Linked DNA regions of Homo sapiens: region 2 is linked to region 1. Evidence: promoter capture Hi-C in human tissues and cell types (Jung and others, 2019). All regions are on one chromosome and are shown on one strand. Each heading gives the region's core, a stretch centred on a gene start or on the middle of the fragment in contact. The rest is flanking DNA. Distances are from core to core; before and after follow the strand shown.

Evidence for each region. Contacts are between HindIII fragments. The study calls those that stand out against the background at their distance.
Region 2: a contact is called between a fragment that was not itself captured here and the fragment with the promoter of SLC9C1 in region 1, in 2 of the 25 tissues and cell types used here (H1 embryonic stem cells and thymus).

Annotation. Positions count from the first base shown.
Region 1 is chr3:112,292,709-112,295,647 of GRCh38, reverse strand. It overlaps SLC9C1 (solute carrier family 9 member C1), which reads left to right and starts at 1,432. Exons shown (of 29, transcript NM_183061.3): 1 at 1,432-1,555. The HindIII fragment of the contact is 5,534 bases long and covers 1-2,939 here.
Region 2 is chr3:112,629,341-112,632,279 of GRCh38, reverse strand. CCDC80 (coiled-coil domain containing 80) reads left to right here. Exons shown (of 8, transcript NM_199511.3): 3 at 2,011-2,167. Among named protein-coding and RNA genes, the nearest start is that of CCDC80, 10 kb to the left of the region's middle. The HindIII fragment of the contact is 4,136 bases long and covers 1-2,939 here.

The DNA.
Region 1 (2,939 bases), core at 183-2,682:
ATAAACAAATACATAATGTGGCAAATATTAGCTTTGCAACTTAATTAATTTTTAAATATATATCCACACATGAACCACAACCCACACACAGATATGTGGCATGTATTTCCAACAATGAGAATCCTTTTTTTTTTTTTTTGAAACGGTGTCTCACCCTGTCTCCCAGGCTGGAGTGCAGTGGCGCAATCTCGGCTCACTGCAACCTCCATCTCCCGGGTTCAAGTGATTCTCCTTTCTTAGCCTCCCGGAGCTAGGACTATAGGCGCCTGCCACCATGCCCGGCTAATTTTTGTATTTTTAGTAGAGACGGGGTTTCACCTTGTTGGTCAGGCTGGTCTCGAACTCCTGACCTCAGGTGATCCACCTGCCTCGGCCTCCCAAAGTGCTGGGATTACAGGCATGAGCCACTGCACCTGGCCGAGAATAGATTTTTTAAAGACCCAAGAAAAGGGGCAGCCCAGCAAGACAGAAAATTTCACCAGTAACTGCTCTACTTTAACCAAACACCACAGAAAAGTGTTCACCCACTCCCTGTACCCACATACCAGCAAAGACTGAGTAGGAAGCTTAAACTTCACCCATACCATACAAGATGCCAGAACCCTGCCTGTTTCCCCACCCCAACCAGAGCAGTATCAGAAAAGGCCTTGTGGGAGCTGGAACTTCCATAACAACCAGGCCATAAAGATGCACCCCATGCCTCAGTTGGAGACCATGTAGGGAGCCTGGACTTCTGCTCCAACCCAGCCAAACAAGTTGCCTCCTGCCTTCTTCATCAGGGTAGTATCAGAGGAGGCCAAATGAAGAGTTGGGAATTTTACCACCATTCACTTATAAACGTGTGGGTCGGGAGAAAGAGATGAAACACAGAGAACAAAACATTAAATACAATTTTAAATAACTTTAAGATATTTTATGAGAGTAGGAATGTGAAAAGTTGGCTCTATAGTAATAACTAAGTAATTTCAATTAAAATATTTTTTACATATTATGTTTAGAAAAAACAAATGAGTATATCATTATTCCTGAAAATTTCCTCACATATAACCCAGAGTGAAAGTTCACCTTGTCATCTTGATTTCATTCTCTTACATGCCCACAATATCCATTCACTTTTTCCCTAACCCAGCAACCTGCGTCCTCATATCTCTACCACACTATCTTATCCAGGAAACTTCCTTTTACTAGAATTCTGGGAAAGCAGTGTCCAACAGCTCTTTGTCAGAAATCCACTGTCCCAAAGTCTTAAATTAACACAATGGCGCAATTTCTGTAGGTTCATTTTCACCCCTTATTTGTTTATTTTTAAAAAATAAAACAAAGCCTTAAGCCGTCAAATGCCTGAGATATACAGGAGCAATGACGTTGCATTTCATCAGCCAATCAAGTAAGAGATGATGGGCCTGAAGCTAACCGGTGCAGACTAGGGGCGAGTTTGGAGCAAGTAACTGTCAGTGAGGTTGCAGTTGGTCTGGGCTGTTTGGCTGTGAGCGAAATAGCTGCCCCCCACTTCTCACTTGCACACCACGGGATACTCCTCCTGAGGCTCCGGATGGTGAGCTCTCCAGTCTCTAGTTTCCTTTTCTGGAAGTTGACCTTTCCTACTGGTACTTTCTCTCTCAGTCTCGCCTCCTAGATGAACAAAGGCTCCCACTGTTTTCCTGCTAGAGATTCAGCCACTCCCTCTTGGCGCTTCTGCCTTTCTTGTGGCAGACCATGGAACACTTTCCCAAAGATCAGCTAGCTTCTCGGTTTGAACTTCTACCCCTTAGCTGCTTCCCCTCCTCCATTATGCTTTTTACATCAACTCTTTGTGAACTATCCAGTGGCATGTGTTCCCTTTGCGTTACTGAAACTGAAAAGTCCAGCCCTAGGGGAAAGCTCACTGGTTCAGGGAATCGCCTCAGGTGTGTGGAGCTGATCTTGAGCTGGAGGAAGGGCTCATTCTGAGTGGAGGGGCATTAGGAGGGCAATAGCCCACCCACCTTCAGAGTCAGTAAGATGTCTGCGTTGTGTGGTAGGAGAGTTTACTAAGGAGACAATCCAGCCTCTGGTATCAATATAAAATAAACCATTAAGCATGAGCTTTGTAGCTGTGAAGATTACTGAGATCCCACAGTGCCCTCTTCAGGATGCTTTCTTCACCTAATTCTTGCAAAACGTTCCAATCTGAAGGAAGAAGACTGTTTCCATGTTCAGTAACATGGTAAATTAGTGTGACTTACGGTTCATGAGACAAAATTTCTCAATGCTGGCTGACTGACAAGGACAAATTCATGTCATTTTTGAGAGGGCAGTCATTAATTTCCTCCACACACAAAGAGAATTGAGATATTAGCTAACATGAGAGATATATATATATATATATATTTGAAATAGAGTCTCACTCTGTCACCCAAGCTGGAGTGCAGTGGCACAATCTAGGCTCACTGCAATCTCTGCCTCTTCAATTGATTCTCCTGTCTCAGCCTCCCAAGTAGTTGGGATTACAGGCATGTGCCACCACACCTGGCTAATTTTTTTTTTTTTTTTTTTGTATTTTTAGTAGAGACAGTTTCACTATTTTGGCCAGGCTAGTCTCGAACTCCTGATCTCAAGTGATCCACCCGCCTAGGCCTCCCAAAGTGCTGGGATTACAGGCGTGAGCCACTGTGCTCAGTCAACTAACTTATTGTTAAATTAATGCAGAGGACCTATGTGATAAACCAATATTTTTTTCTTTAATGGGATTTGGACTCACAGACTTTTACAAAGCTGTCAAAAGTCAGCTTAAGATGAAGAGTTCTAATTATATTGAAAACCTGTGGCCGGGCGTGGTGGCTCACGCCTGTAATCCCAGCACTTTGGGAGGCCGAGGCGGGCAGATCACAAGGTCAGGAGATCGAGACCATCCTGGCTAACACAGTGAAACCCCGTCTCTACTAAAAATACAAAAAATT
Region 2 (2,939 bases), core at 276-2,775, 340 kb before region 1:
TTTTATTTATTTCAGAATAGTGTGGTTTTGAGCACAAAACAGTCAGAAAAAAAGACCTAAAATATACCAACTTAAAATAAAACTTTGGTATCTGCGCTCCCATCAAGATCTGAAGAAATATTTTCAGATGCCATAAAGCTAATTAAAAACAAACCAAGCAACTAAAAATACCATCACCACATCTTTTTATAGCTGCCTTTAATCTTGTTTTAAGGCTAATGTGAATCAATGAATAAATTTGGAGAAATTTTGTTTTTCCCCTTAAAAAATTATGTTCCTAAAACAAGCATTTCCTACCCAGAATGTCCGTATGAGCAGGCATAGAAACACATGAAAAATAAACTAAAGCATGTCTATTTAAAATTAATTATGATCTGAAAAACAAAACAAAACAAAACAAAAACTTCATCCCAGAAAACCTTTGTTAACGTTCCATTCAAAGGCTATTGAACACGTTTAATTTCCTTGAGGGAGAGTATTTTGTCATGCGGGGAGAATTCTTAGAAGGGAAAGCCTGCAGGTAGCAATACAGACATCTCTGACAGAGAAAAATAAACAGCAGGATCAAGCTGAGACCAGATTTATTAACCATTTTTGATAAAATATTTGGAAGAGGTACACAGCCTGGTGATTTGCCCTCTGAAAAATGCCAAGGTAATAGTCATAAATATCGGAAATAGTTTATAAGTTTAGGCGGATAAATAGAAAGTTGGTTGATACATTTGAATGTAGTCAAATGCAAGAAAATTGGCTGATAAATTTGTATTTAGTCAAATGCAAAAAGTTGTTTACAGAAAAATGATTTATAGAGGTTTGCTTCTGAGCTTAGTGATGATGCAACAAAGGGCAAATAGACAGCGTTCATTGCAGACATCAGCCTGGTGATCTATTTGGGATCAAGGATCTCAACAAAGACCTGGTCATCATCACAATAAAATTTCACATCCTCCCACCTCCAAGGTAAGCAGCATTATGCCCACTAGCTTGTGGGATGTGGAACAGAGTTCTAGCTTCAGCTCAAGGATTGAGTAAAATTGGTAAAATTGGAGAAGGCTCAGGGAAGGGCAGCTAAATTAATCAAGAGAGTAGAGAAGCTTTTGTATTAGGTTAGATAAAAATAGTGAGACGTTCTCAGAGAAAAGATTCAAGAGGACCTCTTAAAAGTAGGGTTATCCTTACTGTATCCAAAATAAATTACATTTTCTCAGATTTCTGGTGACTAAAGTATTTCTTTTGATTGCTTTGTCTTTCCTCTTTTTTTTTTCCCCCAGAAGACAGGGGTCATAGGATGAGGATGAAAGACAGAGGGCTAGGTGAAAAATACCAGGTCTGAACCAAAGAGAGGGCTAAACTTAGAGTAAAAAACATCCTGTTGGAAAACTGCAATATCAAAAGACAAACACCACCAACTCTGTGCAGGCTGAATGTGACAGTGAATATATTCTATGTGACAAAACGTAGGCCTAAAAGTCATCATAAAACCTTTCTGCAAGGTTTTCTAATAAGAGTTCTAAATCACAGAATGTTTCGTAGTGCCCAGGGCCTGGCTATGAAACTCTCTTAACCCTGTGAAATGTGAATAATAGTAGTAACCACTGTATTAACCAATATCTAATCAGCCAGTGAGAATAATGAAGATCAAAATTAGGGAAGGAAAATAACATTTATTGAACAATTATTGCATGCCAAGTATTCATGTAATGTTCACAGCAGCCTTGCAAAATAAATATTCCTTTGCAGAGTTCACAAATAAGAAAAGTGAGACATGTGGAGGCTAGTAATGGAGGTAAATAATGGAAGTGAGTAGAAAACTCCAAGCTGTCTTGGAGACAAAAAGAGGCCTTTTCAAATGGCCCTTTTTGGTCCTAATTATGCTAACTGTTCAGCAGAACATTTGTAGCTTAGATGCAGTCACTACCAGCCCTCTCTTCCAAATCATCTCTTTGGGTTTTGCTTCAGTGTGAAACTATCACTATAAATGAGTATTTGTTTGTCTTCACCCACCTCCAGCTGATCACTGCTCCCAAGGCTGAGAACAATATGTATGTGCAACAACGTGATGAATATCTGGAAAGTTTCTGCAAGATGGCTACCAGGAAAATCTCTGTGATCACCATCTTCGGCCCTGTCAACAACAGCACCATGAAAATCGACCACTTTCAGCTAGGTTCTCTTAAACATTTTAATTATATTATTGTTTTTCTCATATCTAAGGTGGGACAAACTTTATGGTAGAGGTACATGGGGGATCCAAAAGAAAATGAAGATGTTCAGAGGGCTCTTTGGTTGTGATAACACAGGTCAGTTTGCCTGCTTATTTAAATAGCCATTCCAGGATGGTTCTCGTTTAAGTTTTAAGCACTGTAAAAAAGAAAAATACGCAAACACTCTATTGTCTGAAAGTCAGTAAGGTGGAAGAAAATGGGAAAAGTAACACAGTGTGGGAGAGAATCAGAGAGGCATTCAGACACTTTTTCTGGGTACTGAGTCTTCTCGCCTGTGAGCAGCCCCGTCTGATCTTCCTGCAGACTCTCCGCTGCAGGTGACTCATCACAGATGGGACTTGCCAGACTCTCGGAAGTACTTGACTCTGGCAAGCCTGAGGAAGGAATTAACCAGAACTGAGAGAAGCTGTTAAGATAAATGAAAAGTCACTGAAAATATGGACTGAACTGCACCCAAGTCCTTTTGGAGAGTAGAAGAATTTGGCTGAATTTAGAGTTTTCGCAATTTTACATATGAATGGTGCATGTGAGACTCATGAGGCGTACAGCCCAGTGTTGGACAGCTGAGATCTAACTCATTGCAGTTCTCCTGGGAACGTTGCAAGATTTACTGTGATTAGTTAAGCCTCATAGTCAGAAGCCCAAAATATGACCCACCCAGTTTATTTCATAATTATTGCATCTCTAGGGCTTTATTTTTTAAAAAGCTTTTTT